Linked DNA regions of Homo sapiens: regions 1, 2 and 3 are each linked to region 4. The links are contacts of gene promoters, found by promoter capture Hi-C in human tissues and cell types (Jung and others, 2019). All regions are on one chromosome and are shown on one strand. Each heading gives the region's core, a stretch centred on a gene start or on the middle of the fragment in contact. The rest is flanking DNA. Distances are from core to core; before and after follow the strand shown.

The links. Contacts are between HindIII fragments. The study calls those that stand out against the background at their distance.
Region 1: a contact is called between a fragment that was not itself captured here and the fragment with the promoter of CBR1 in region 4, in 1 of the 25 tissues and cell types used here (lymphoblastoid cells).
Region 2: a contact is called between a fragment that was not itself captured here and the fragment with the promoter of CBR1 in region 4, in 1 of the 25 tissues and cell types used here (lymphoblastoid cells).
Region 3: a contact is called between a fragment that was not itself captured here and the fragment with the promoter of CBR1 in region 4, in 1 of the 25 tissues and cell types used here (dorsolateral prefrontal cortex).

The regions. Positions count from the first base shown.
Region 1 is chr21:34,787,215-34,790,070 of GRCh38, forward strand. RUNX1 (RUNX family transcription factor 1) reads right to left here. Exons shown (of 9, transcript NM_001754.5): 9 at 587-2,856. Among named protein-coding and RNA genes, the nearest start is that of LINC01426, 43 kb to the left of the region's middle. The HindIII fragment of the contact is 6,144 bases long and covers 1-2,856 here.
Region 2 is chr21:34,759,271-34,762,185 of GRCh38, forward strand. All of the region lies in intron 1 of LINC01426 (long intergenic non-protein coding RNA 1426), which reads left to right. Among named protein-coding and RNA genes, the nearest start is that of LINC01426, 15 kb to the left of the region's middle. The HindIII fragment of the contact is 3,510 bases long and covers 1-2,915 here.
Region 3 is chr21:34,537,200-34,540,090 of GRCh38, forward strand. All of the region lies in intron 1 of RCAN1 (regulator of calcineurin 1), which reads right to left. Among named protein-coding and RNA genes, the nearest start is that of KCNE1, 26 kb to the left of the region's middle. The HindIII fragment of the contact is 3,284 bases long and covers 1-2,891 here.
Region 4 is chr21:36,068,357-36,071,355 of GRCh38, forward strand. CBR1 (carbonyl reductase 1) reads left to right here and starts at 1,668. Exons shown (of 3, transcript NM_001757.4): 1 at 1,668-2,048; 2 at 2,594-2,701. The coding sequence starts at 1,760. CBR1-AS1 (CBR1 antisense RNA 1) reads right to left here. Exons shown (of 4, transcript NR_040084.1): 4 at 1,286-2,129. RefSeq lists an enhancer at 1,724-1,973. The HindIII fragment of the contact is 9,879 bases long and covers 1-2,999 here.

The sequences.
Region 1 (2,856 bases), core at 37-2,536, 1.3 Mb before region 4:
ACTTTGGGTTGGCTAGTGTCATGTAACTCTTTTTAGTTTCTTTATTATTATTATTATTTTTGAGATGGAGTCTCGCTCTGTCGCCCAGGCTAGAGTGCAGTGGCGCGATCTCGGCTCACTGCAACTTCCGCCTCCCGGGTTCACGCCATTCTTCTGCCTCAGCCTCCTGAGTAGTTGGGACTACAGCCGCCACCACGCCAGGCTAATTTTTTATATTTTTAGTAGAGACAGAGTTTCACCGTGTTAGCCAGGATGGTCGCGATCTCCTGACCTCATGATCCGCCCGCCTCGGCCTCCCAACGTGCTGGGATTACAGGCGTGAGCCACCGCGCCGGCCTATTATTATTTTTTAAAACAAGCATTAAAACATGCTTCAGTGCTCTTTCATATGCAAAGAAGCAACCCTGGGAGCCTGCGCCTTTTCCAGGCCCTCATGCCTTCAGAAGCCAGAGTGTGCTAGGAGCACCGGGGGTGAGGACATAGCTTCAGCCTGAAGCTGTTCACTGGAGGTATCTTCCTAGTGTGTGCAGTGGGCCTTACTCAGTTTCCCAACCCTCCATCTCAGAGAAAGACAAAACCAATTGGATATGGTGTATGTACTTGTCAAACTGTTTATTTGCCATTCACACTGATTGTAACACTGGATTTACAGAAGAAACTGTGGTACAAAGAGAGGAAGGCTCTGGTGGCTCCTGAACAGCAGCAGTCCAGCTGCCCTGCTCAGGCTGGGCACGACGAATGCTCCCAGGAGAGGGGAGGCGGCCCACCCGACTGTGTACCGTGGACTGTGGACAGTGCAGTGCCTGCTCTCCTGTGCTATCTAGAAACACCTTGGAGAGAGGGTTCTGGGATATTCTCTCATGTCATCTGGCTGAAGACACCAGCTTGACAGTTCCCCTTTAAGAAGCATTCCATACGTTTGTACCAGGGAGAAAGAAGCCCACGCACGAATTTTCAGGATGTTTTGTGACCAAACCCAATAACTGCCACACAAATAGACCCTAGGTGGGGGCTGGCTTAAATAGGACCACATTTCCCGTTGCTTTTTCAGTAGATGTGTTATACCGTCATTTCAATTTGAAAGTTTATTTTTTTCCATTGATTTTTATACATCCAGAATAACACAAATAACCAACAGTTCTTTTTCTTTTTTTGCACATTCATTTCCCCTAGAACAAAAAAAGTGAACTTAAAAAAAATTGGAACCATGCTATTAGCTGTTTACAAAAGTGAATAAGAAGTAGCTCATTTTAAAGTCTAAAATAAACAAAGTAGAAAGAAGCATTTTTTTCCCTACAGTATTTAGCAAACCTAAGAAAAAGTCCTTAGAAACACACACAAAAAAATTGAAAAAAAGTTATAGGCATTAACAATATTTTATAATGAAGCTTAAAATCTATTTACATACATAAATACAATTAACTTTGTTGATGCAACTCTTCTGGAAGGAAAAAAAGAGCCAAATGATCAGCCTCATCAATACTGACCTGGCTAAAAACAAAATTCCCAACAAACACACAAAAATCCCAAAACAAATGTATACGCTACGGTAAACAAAAAGGCATTTTGTTCAGATGTAAAATATGTTTTGTGAGATTATTGTCAAACAAATTTTCATGTATAAAAGACCCAAACATGTCATTCCCCCCAAAAATAAAAACCAACAAAAATAAAAATCATCAGGACGGAATGTCCCAAAGAAACAGGTATTTCAAGGCAGAAATCTGCAATCCTAAATTGCAGGACATTTGAGTGGAACCATTCATTTCCTTTCTAATCAGAGCATTTCTGTTTATCTGCACAGAAACCCAAGGCAGCAGAAAGGCTGTCTATTTACTCACTGATTGTGATTTGCCCAGGAAAGTTTGCTGGTTTGGACAGCAAGCAGATCCAATATGGTTGGCAATGTCTCTGTTCTGCTGGAAGAAACCCATAAACAGGAGAAAGGCTGACAAACCATGTTCCTTTATGTGAAGGGGGAAGAACTGGACCTTCTTGTGTTCTGAAATTTGGTACTGGGTGGGGGTATGTGCTATCTGCTTAAGAGAACACAGGAAAAGGAGGAGGGAGAAAGTGGGGTTTGGAAGATAGAGGAAGAGAGAAAAAAAGGGAGATATTGGGGGGAAGAGAGGGAGGGAAATGTATTTTCAGATAGTGAGAAAAAGAAAGAACTGAAATATGTATCCATGTTGAAATCATAAATAGGGACATGAGTAAGCAGTAGAAATGGCTTATTCAATACTTCTCCTGGACCAGACACATGCAGTTATTACATGATTGGCTTAAGGGTCTCATTGATACCTTAACTTTCCTGAGGGCAATGAATAAAAAGATACCTTAATCTACCTGAAGTCAATGAATGCAATTTTTCACACACACACACACACACGCACACACACACACATACAAAAATGTGTTGCGTGAGACCTATCGCCAAAACAACTACAGTTTGATTTTTTTTGAAACAATTAAATACTATATATGCTGGTAAGAGTCTGTGAAACTCTAAATGACCAATCCAGTGAGCCTACAATAGTGACAAGCCCCCTCCACACATGGCTTTGAGAGTAAAGGTTCAATGTAAAAGATTATCTAATCAGAGCATGAGGCTGGTTTTGAGTTGGAATATCTTCAGTTAACAGAATTAAACTGAAAAACATAATTTTTTCCTTCATTTTTCTCCAGCATTTTTGCAGGTCAGACATGGTAACATGTGCTGAAAAAAAACATTTACGTTTAATTTGGGGGAAATGGGCTAATGGTGCTTTTCAGAAATTAAATTTTTACATTTGCTGACATTTTATGGTAATTTAGCTGCAAAAATGTAATACGGAATAATATATGAAACTGAGTTGT
Region 2 (2,915 bases), core at 372-2,871, 1.3 Mb before region 4:
TAGGAATGGTGAACACTCTCGATTGATTTGATGAGAGAATACTACCTCTGAGCCCCAATGAAGTGAGATTTTATCCCCTCTAAAAAAAGAATTCATTTTTTTCTCATTAGTTGAACTGTATTTTTTTAATATCCTTGATTTTTAATAATATTGTCATATTTTAATTTTCATTAATAAAAAAGTATGGAAATGTGCTTTCACTCTTTTTATGGAAGTAACTGCTGCAGGGCATCGTGGCTCATGCGTGTAATCCCAGCACTCTGGGAGGCCGAGGCAGGTGGATCACCTAATATCAGGAGTTCAAGACCAGCCTGGCCAACATGGTGAAACCCTGTCTCTACTAAAAATACAAAAATTAGCTGGGTGTGATGGTAGGCACCTGTAATCTCAGCTACTCGGGAGGCTGAGGCAGGAGAATCACTTGAACCCGGGCAGGGAAGATTGCAGTGAGCTGAGATTGCACCGTTGCACTCCAGCCTAGGTGACAGAGTGAGGATCTGTCTCAAAAAAAAAAAATAATAATAAGTAACTGCATAGTAGGTTTGATTTTGCCTCTTGCCCTACAACACCTGAAGTATGCACTATCTGGCTCTTCACCAAAAAGGGCTACTGAGCTCTCCCTGGTCTAGGTGTTGGTGGAGAAAATGGATGGGTTCGGATGTATTTTGGAGTGAGAGCCAGTAGGACTTTAATTTTAATGCTGGCAGAACATAGACTATGCTGCAGGGTGGGACAGAGTCACTTGATCCCTAAGACAAGTCTAAGACTATGAGGGGCCATGGTCCACCACCGTCATAGCAGGTGTCTTTCTTCTTGGTGTATGAGCTTTCCAAGGAAGTGTTATGTCTAAATCAGATTCCAACATTCAAGGGCCCAACTGTATATGCGAAGGCAATGGAAGGTCTTATGCAGAGGAATAACAACAAAATATACCTGACCCAGGTTGTCCGGTGCCAGGTGGAGGATGGACCACCTGGGAACCAGAATGGTGGTGATGAGGCCCCCAACATGGCCTAGAGCAGCCCTCCCCATGGTCCCCTCTGGGTTGAGTCTCGGGCTCCTCCCATGCCCCAGCTGAGCCCATAGGTCTCCTGTGTACCAGCAGCCTGTTGACCAGAATAAGCAGTGCCTGGCACAGGCCCTGGAGGCTTCATGTTATAGCCCATAAACAACGCCGTATTTATTGACGGATGACTATCATTGTCAAGTTTCCAGCCACCACCCCACCTTCCATAGGACCAGCAGGCTGGCTCCTGGCTGGCACCAAGAGTGAGCGGCTTGGGCATTTAATCAGGTTCAGGTAACAGGTAAGGACTGGTTCCCCAGCTAGGGAAAAACACAGTGAATATTTTGGATTGAGCCATGTGTGCCGCATCTTGCTGGAGCTTGCAGGCCCCTTGGAGGCTCTCAGACGGCTCTTAATTAATTGCTGGAGCCAAGTGGGGCAATCTTGTGAGCGCTGTTGCTTTTGCTCATCTGATCCAGCCATGCTCAGGGGAGGGTGAGGAGCTGGCCTTGGATTTAGGGGATGAATGGGGTGGGCTGGGATATGGGAGGAGCTCAGTGGCCTGGCCAAGATGGTTGGGACAAAGCTTGGAATAGCCAACCTGTTTGTCAAGCAAATGGACAGGCCCTTTCTTCCAGGCAGAGAAAGACCTTGCTTCAGCTCCCTGGCTTGGGGAGGAGAGACCCAGATTCGAATCCTAGCTCTACTACTAACTAACTCTGGGACCATGGGGCAATTAGCTGCTTTAAGCTTCACTGTCTCATCTGTAAAATGCATGCAGTGATACTACCTCGAAGGATTGTGGTGGGAATCAAATGAGATGAGGGTAATGCCATGCACCATAGTCCCTGCAAGGCCACTGGGTCCCTGTAAGGCCACTGATCAGTGGGGCATGCCAACACTAGAGGCAGTGCTAACCCTAGGAGGCGGGGACAGCAGAAGAGATCTCAGGTGGGCCCATGTCCCTAAGGGGAGAACGAGCCCTGGGCACCAGGGACATCATGCAGTGAAGATGCTGGAGGTGGGAATGGGGTTTCAAGTGCCAGGGACCATCTCCTTAACTCCTCTGCACTCATGCATGCAGCTCCTGCAAGGCTTGGCAGAGCTCGGGCTGAAGAGGAAAGGCTCCTGCCTACCCAGCCATAGGTCCCCAGTGGATGCAAAGGGAACTTTTCCTTGGTCCTGGTCCTCAGTGGAACCCGTTTTGTTTCGATTGTCCCTGACCTGGCCTGTGCTCTCGCTGCACCATCCTGTGGAACACAGACACCTGGAGAGTCAGAGCTGGCTGGATCTTTGGAAGGGCACAGTCACAGCTGCACCCGCCACTCCTTCCCATCCCAGGCTCGATACTTCAGTAATCCTTGCTGCCTGAGCTTCCCTTATGGGTCCCAGGTCACACCTTCTTTCCTCCTATTCTGTTTGCTGAGATACCTTCTCTTCAAATCCTTCTCCTATAGAGAGGTTTCCATGAGCCGTGGGATGGGATGGGTGTGGCCCTCTTCTGGGATCCAGAGCTCCATGGAGAGCCCTCTGACTTGGTTCCTGACTCCTTCTGCAGACCTTGTCTCCATCTTGCTTCCCTCCTCCATCAGTCCTCTAGGCCTTGAGGACAGGCACTGAGTCTTACTGCAGTGTTGAGGCTCCAAGATGGCAGTGATCTCCCAATAAATATTTGCTAACCTCAGCTGATTTCTTTACTTTATGATGTAAGAATTGAAGCTACAAGAGGGTCTGTGACCTGCCTAAAGTCATATGCAAATTAACCAGATCTTGGCTCCAGTAGTCTACTTTGACTCGAGTGCTGTTTCCCTTAAATCATGCAGCTTGTCAGGTCAGGTCAAGCATAGCCTGGATCTCACCACATTCTTACGGGATTGAAGGATGTAATATTAATGACTCAGTAGGCTTG
Region 3 (2,891 bases), core at 248-2,747, 1.5 Mb before region 4:
CCCAAAGAGAGAACAACTGTGCCAACCTGGTTCATCAGGAAAATCTAGGTGTTCCCGTCAAGTGACTAAAATGTGGGCACACATCTTTGCACCGAGTATCTGATTCCTAAGAGCTGTTCCCTTTCCATCAGGCCTAGAATGGCCCAGTTAGTTTTCTCCTGGTGAACTGTAGCCCATTAACATTGACGGAAAATTAGTTGTTAATATTGAAAAATTGGGAGGTGTCACACAGAAATAGAACTTCTGACTTCTTTTTGGTGGTGGTGGCCCGGGGAGATGTGGCCACCCTGGGCCCAGAGCTCCATTTCACTGTGGCCGAGCAGATGCCCCTTGTTGGGGAACCCATGCTCTTCAAATACCCCAGGCCTCATCACTGTCTGTGGTCTACTCGCCCCTCCACCAATGATGGCTGCTGGCTGACCAGCCCCCAGGGCATTTCAATTTGTGGCTTAATTTGGTAATTCATCAAAAACAGATTAGTCACCTGCTAGGGCCAGCCATGGTGTGAGGTGCCAGGCGTACAGGCAGAGAAGTTTACCCAGCTCTGGGGCTCAAGCTGTTCTATGCCTAACAATTTACACCGAATTATACATGGAGAGGGCATGGCCCTCACTCCCACATGGTAATTGTGTGTGTGTGTGTGTGTGTACTTATTTTTTCATCTGGCCCATGTATGGGCACATCACATTCCTATGGGTGACTCCCTGGGCATCTGTGAAATGTTGTCTCCCACTCCTGAAATTATGCTGTAAATGCCAGGGAATGGTGGTGACATGGTTATAGCGACGATCTTGATTCTGCTCAAACATAAACCACAGTTGGTTTCTTTAGCAATTATTAAGAAATGATTGGGCCATGTCAGAGGAAGACAGAGGAAGAATCTGAACTGTAATTCACTTACAGATTTCTACAGAATTAGCTCATGATTCATGGAGGCAAAAAAAGTTTTGTCAGGAATGGCATTCGAAGACACAGAAAAACAATTTGAAAGGAGCCTGAGGTCCAGGTGTTTTCAGAGTGTGGTCTTTAAGATAGTTTCTTAAAAGATCATTCGGAGAAGAGAGCATTTTAAACTGCTCTTGTACAAATCTATGGTACATTTTATTCCTTATGTTGAAAATGATGGGAAGATTGTGCCTGTTTCACCCATTTAAGAAACGCTCCCTGTTGGTCCAAGCCACCGTGGGCTCCTCCATCCTGAGGGAGGACACAGTGGCTCTACTGTCCTCTGTAGAGGTGAAATTATGTGGCACATACTGTGATCAACCACAGCTACTGCCAACTCCCCAGCCAATTCCCCATCCACTCCCCGCCATGGGTACTGGCCGCTTCCAGACTCTAAGACAGAGGTTCTTGCGCAGGGGAGGTTATTAGGACGAGTGGTGGGGAGGGGAAAGGAAACTGGGCAGAGGGAGAGTGAAGCTACCAAGTGGTCCTAGTGGAAGCCTAGCCGACTCTACAGGGAGCTTTGAGGATGAGACGACCCTTATCGGAGCAGGAGGACCGGGCCTTGATACCCCCACGTTGGTCAGTTCTGGGAAGGGGCTACCCTGAGAAGGGGGTGGAACTTGGGCAAGGTGGCTTTGCTCTGCCCCAACAGGGCTGACTGTCAAGGGAGGCTGGGAGACAAATTCTATTTTTCTGAAGTGACCTGGGGTGTGTCACTGTGACCAGTGCACCGACCAGCTAACCGACCAACCCGCAAGGCCCAAGCTCAAGGAATTAGAAGGCTCCAGACTTGCACCCTAAGTTAATCATCTGAAGTCTCAGAAATGTGACAGCCTTTAAACTGAACACTACAAAAATGCTGCTTATTCCACTCCAAATCATTAGCTCATCATCCATGTAAGGAGCTTCAAGAAGAATATCGGTAAGATTAGCGGTAAATTCAAACAGTTTAAACTTTCAGTATAAACCGCATCAACTCAAATCCCGAATACTGACTCAACAATTTCACTCCTAGGAATTTATTCTAAAGAAATCCTCATGGCTGTGGGCAAACATTAGATGCAAATATGTTCCTGCAAGGCAAATAAAATATGCAAAAATATAGTTTTATGTAAATAAAATACATCAAGATCCGTGATCAGATAATATACATGCTAAATTCATTCAGTAGACTATAGAGCCACTCATAGTAAGGTGGTGAAAACTAATGACATGAAAAGATGTTCAAGACTTGCTGTTAGGAGAAAAAACCAGGTTACAAAGCAATGTTTATTGTTCTCATTTTGGTGAAAAGAAAGAATATGTGTGATAGTATTAGAAGACTCCTGTGTTTTTCTTCTTGATTATTTGGATTTGGATTATTTAGATTCTAGCATGAATTTCCACAATGAACACTTATTACTTTTATAATAACAAAAAAGCTTCTCCTTTCCCCTTCCCTCACTAGATGCTATATATCAATGGTCAAGGTAACCGTGGTTAACAGACACAATATGTAAGGGTAAAGGTTAGTTGGAGAGAAAATCGACTTTGCCTGTTTTTGTGTAGTGGTTTGGTATCACGGCTTTTAATATTTGCTCTGTATCTGTTATGCACAATCTCTAAACCTGCTCATTTTAACCCATTAACATTTTGGAGTGCTAGTTATTGAAAGAATCCTATTTCATACCTAGAAACAGGGATTTCACCAGAAAATACTGATTTTGTCTTTCTTTGATTACCTCTCCTGCCTGCCATCTTTATCTGGTGAAATTCTCATTTAATCAGTAGTGTTGGCTGAGCCATTCTCACTGGAGTCAGGGCTGTCTGAGTGCCAGGGGACACTCATCTGAATTGTTTCTTGTCACTGCCATGTCCCTACATCTATTCCTTGCTCACCTGCATTATTTTCCCCATTCTTCTTGCAGTCCCAGAATCACATCCAAGCCCCTTTTCTTTCTCCC
Region 4 (2,999 bases), core at 418-2,917:
TTGAATTTATGTTTAAATGGCCACCTGTGATAGTGGCAACCTATGGGACAGCACAGAAATGAAACTTGACCTTATTCCCAATTCCCTTGTAAGTAGGAAGGAGGAACACTCACTTTGAAACCATGCAATTGTCCCATAGGACAGATGTTTATGGTCTCTTTTTTTTTCCTTTTTTTTTTTTTTGAGAGGGAGTCACTCTGTTGCCCAGGCTGGAGTGCAGTGGCATGATCTCGGCTCGCTGCAACCTCCGCCTCTGGGGTTCAAGCAAGCAATTCTCTGCTTCAGCCTCCCAAGTAGCTGGGATTACAGGCGCCTGCCACCACACCCAGCTAATTTTTGTATTTTTTTTTTTTTTTTTTTTTTTTAGTAGAGATGGGGTTTCACCATCTTGGCCAGGCTGGTCTTGAACTCCTGACCTCATGATCCACCCACCTCAGCCTCCCAAAGTGCTGAGATTACAGGCGTGAGCCACCGCGCCAGGCCTGGTCTCTTTTGAATAAACAAATTGACCCTCCCAGTCTAAAAACTTGAGAAATTTACATTTGTCTTATCTGAGTTCCTTTCTCAGGGAACTAGCCATCAGTCCTCCCAGATAGCACCAAGGAACTGAAACTTATCGGATCACCACATCTGGAAAATCAGACACCAGACCCCTCACCTGCAACAATTGCCTGATGCCTGTTGACCCACTCCTCTTCATCTCTCCCTAACTCCTGCTATTTTCCCACATGCAGTTACATTTCTTCCCTGCTATATCCTAATTTTAATCAGTTGAGAAGATGGATTTGAGACTGATCTCTCCCCCCTAGGCTGTAGCACCCAAATAATGCCTTCTTCCCTGACAATAATGGGGTCTCAGTGACTGGCTTTCTGTGCTGTGAACCACCAGACCTAGACCAAACTCCTGGCATTTCTCTAACAATTTCCCACCACTGAACTAAGTTATAAATTCTGAGGATGGATCCCTGTTTCTTCATTTTAAGATGGGGATTAAAAGGTACATCCTAGAGTGTTATTGTCCGTGTAAAATAGGGCTGTGAAACCCCCTACACCTATGCACAGATAAACTGATGGCCCTGCAAATGCCCAGAGAAGTAACCTTATAAAGATTTAGTGAATGTTTCCCACCATTATTGGAAAATCTGGCTAAGTCAGTAGCTTTGTTTTCATATACTTAGGGGGAAAATCAACAAAAACTTGATGCCCTGTTATTTCCTTCCAGTTTCTTCTGCAACTCTAGCTCCAAAGACTGCAGTTCCTGCAGTATTTTTTTTTTTAGAACACCAGGAAAAAAAGAAAAAAAAACCATGCAAATGTACTATTTCTTCAAACACAACTAGGAATGATTGAACAGCTGGGAGAATATGAAGAAAACCCCTCAGAGAACCAAGGGCAAGCAGTGAGTTCAGATCTAGGCACATGGCCACTAGGAATGGTTCTTCACTGCCACGTGGGCAGCCAACAGCCAGTAGCTAGAGACCAGCCTCGGTCTTCGGCCTGCGGGTTCTGCAAAGTCAGGCTAGCTGGCTCTCCGCCTGCTCCGCACCCCGGCGAGGTTCCGGTGGGGAGGGGTAGGGATGGTTCAGCCCCGCCCCGCTAGGGCGGGGCCTGCGCCTGCGCGCTCAGCGGCCGGGCGTGTAACCCACGGGTGCGCGCCCACGACCGCCAGACTCGAGCAGTCTCTGGAACACGCTGCGGGGCTCCCGGGCCTGAGCCAGGTCTGTTCTCCACGCAGGTGTTCCGCGCGCCCCGTTCAGCCATGTCGTCCGGCATCCATGTAGCGCTGGTGACTGGAGGCAACAAGGGCATCGGCTTGGCCATCGTGCGCGACCTGTGCCGGCTGTTCTCGGGGGACGTGGTGCTCACGGCGCGGGACGTGACGCGGGGCCAGGCGGCCGTACAGCAGCTGCAGGCGGAGGGCCTGAGCCCGCGCTTCCACCAGCTGGACATCGACGATCTGCAGAGCATCCGCGCCCTGCGCGACTTCCTGCGCAAGGAGTACGGGGGCCTGGACGTGCTGGTCAACAACGCGGGCATCGCCTTCAAGGGTATGGGGAGGGGACGTGGCCTCCCCGAAGAAGAACCGATGCACTGGGGCTCCTGGCGTCTGCGGGGTCCATAACGCCTCCCTAGGGAGGAGAGGGAGGAGCTAGGAGATGCAGGGAGTGCAGAAACCTTGGAGAAAGTGAGAGTTTTCCAGCCAAAGGGAACTTTGTGTTTCCCTGGCTGGGACTCTTGGGGATCTTTTTCAGGTTTTCTGCAGTTTTTCTGAATTGAGCTTTAAGGCAACTGGATGGATTTTGAACTGATTTTAAAATAAACGACAAATTGCAAAAAGAAAAAATGGTTATGCCAAGATCCAGTGTGTGCACCCTTCATCCTCCTTCCCCCAATGGTGCCATCTTACAAAAATACTAGAACATGATCAAACCAGGAGATTGACATTGGCACAATACTGTAACCAGATACAGACTTACTTTAGGCAGAGGGCACTAAGTTTTTTTTTTTTTTTTTTTTTTTTTTTAGTATCATTGTATAGAATTTTACCCCATGGGTACAATGTATTAACTATGTTCTCTTTCTCTCCTAAAAGTTGCTGATCCCACACCCTTTCATATTCAAGCTGAAGTGACGATGAAAACAAATTTCTTTGGTACCCGAGATGTGTGCACAGAATTACTCCCTCTAATAAAACCCCAAGGTGAGTCTGATGGGAAACAGCGCACCTTCTCTTTGGGGCTTGATTTGGCCCCTGCTTGCCTGGGATTTCTCCTGCAGGCTCCTGCTTCCTCTCCATGCTGCACGTGCACTGACCTCTGTGCTTTTTCTCCTGCCAGCTGATATGTGCCATTTTGCCTCAGGACTTTGTCCTCACTTCTCCCACTCCCATGGCCATTCGTCCTCCCTGTCGCACTGGTCTTTGCACACCTGGCTGACTCTCATCCTTCAGGTCTTAGCTCAAACGTCTCCTGAGAGATGCTCTTTATTTGCTCCATTCC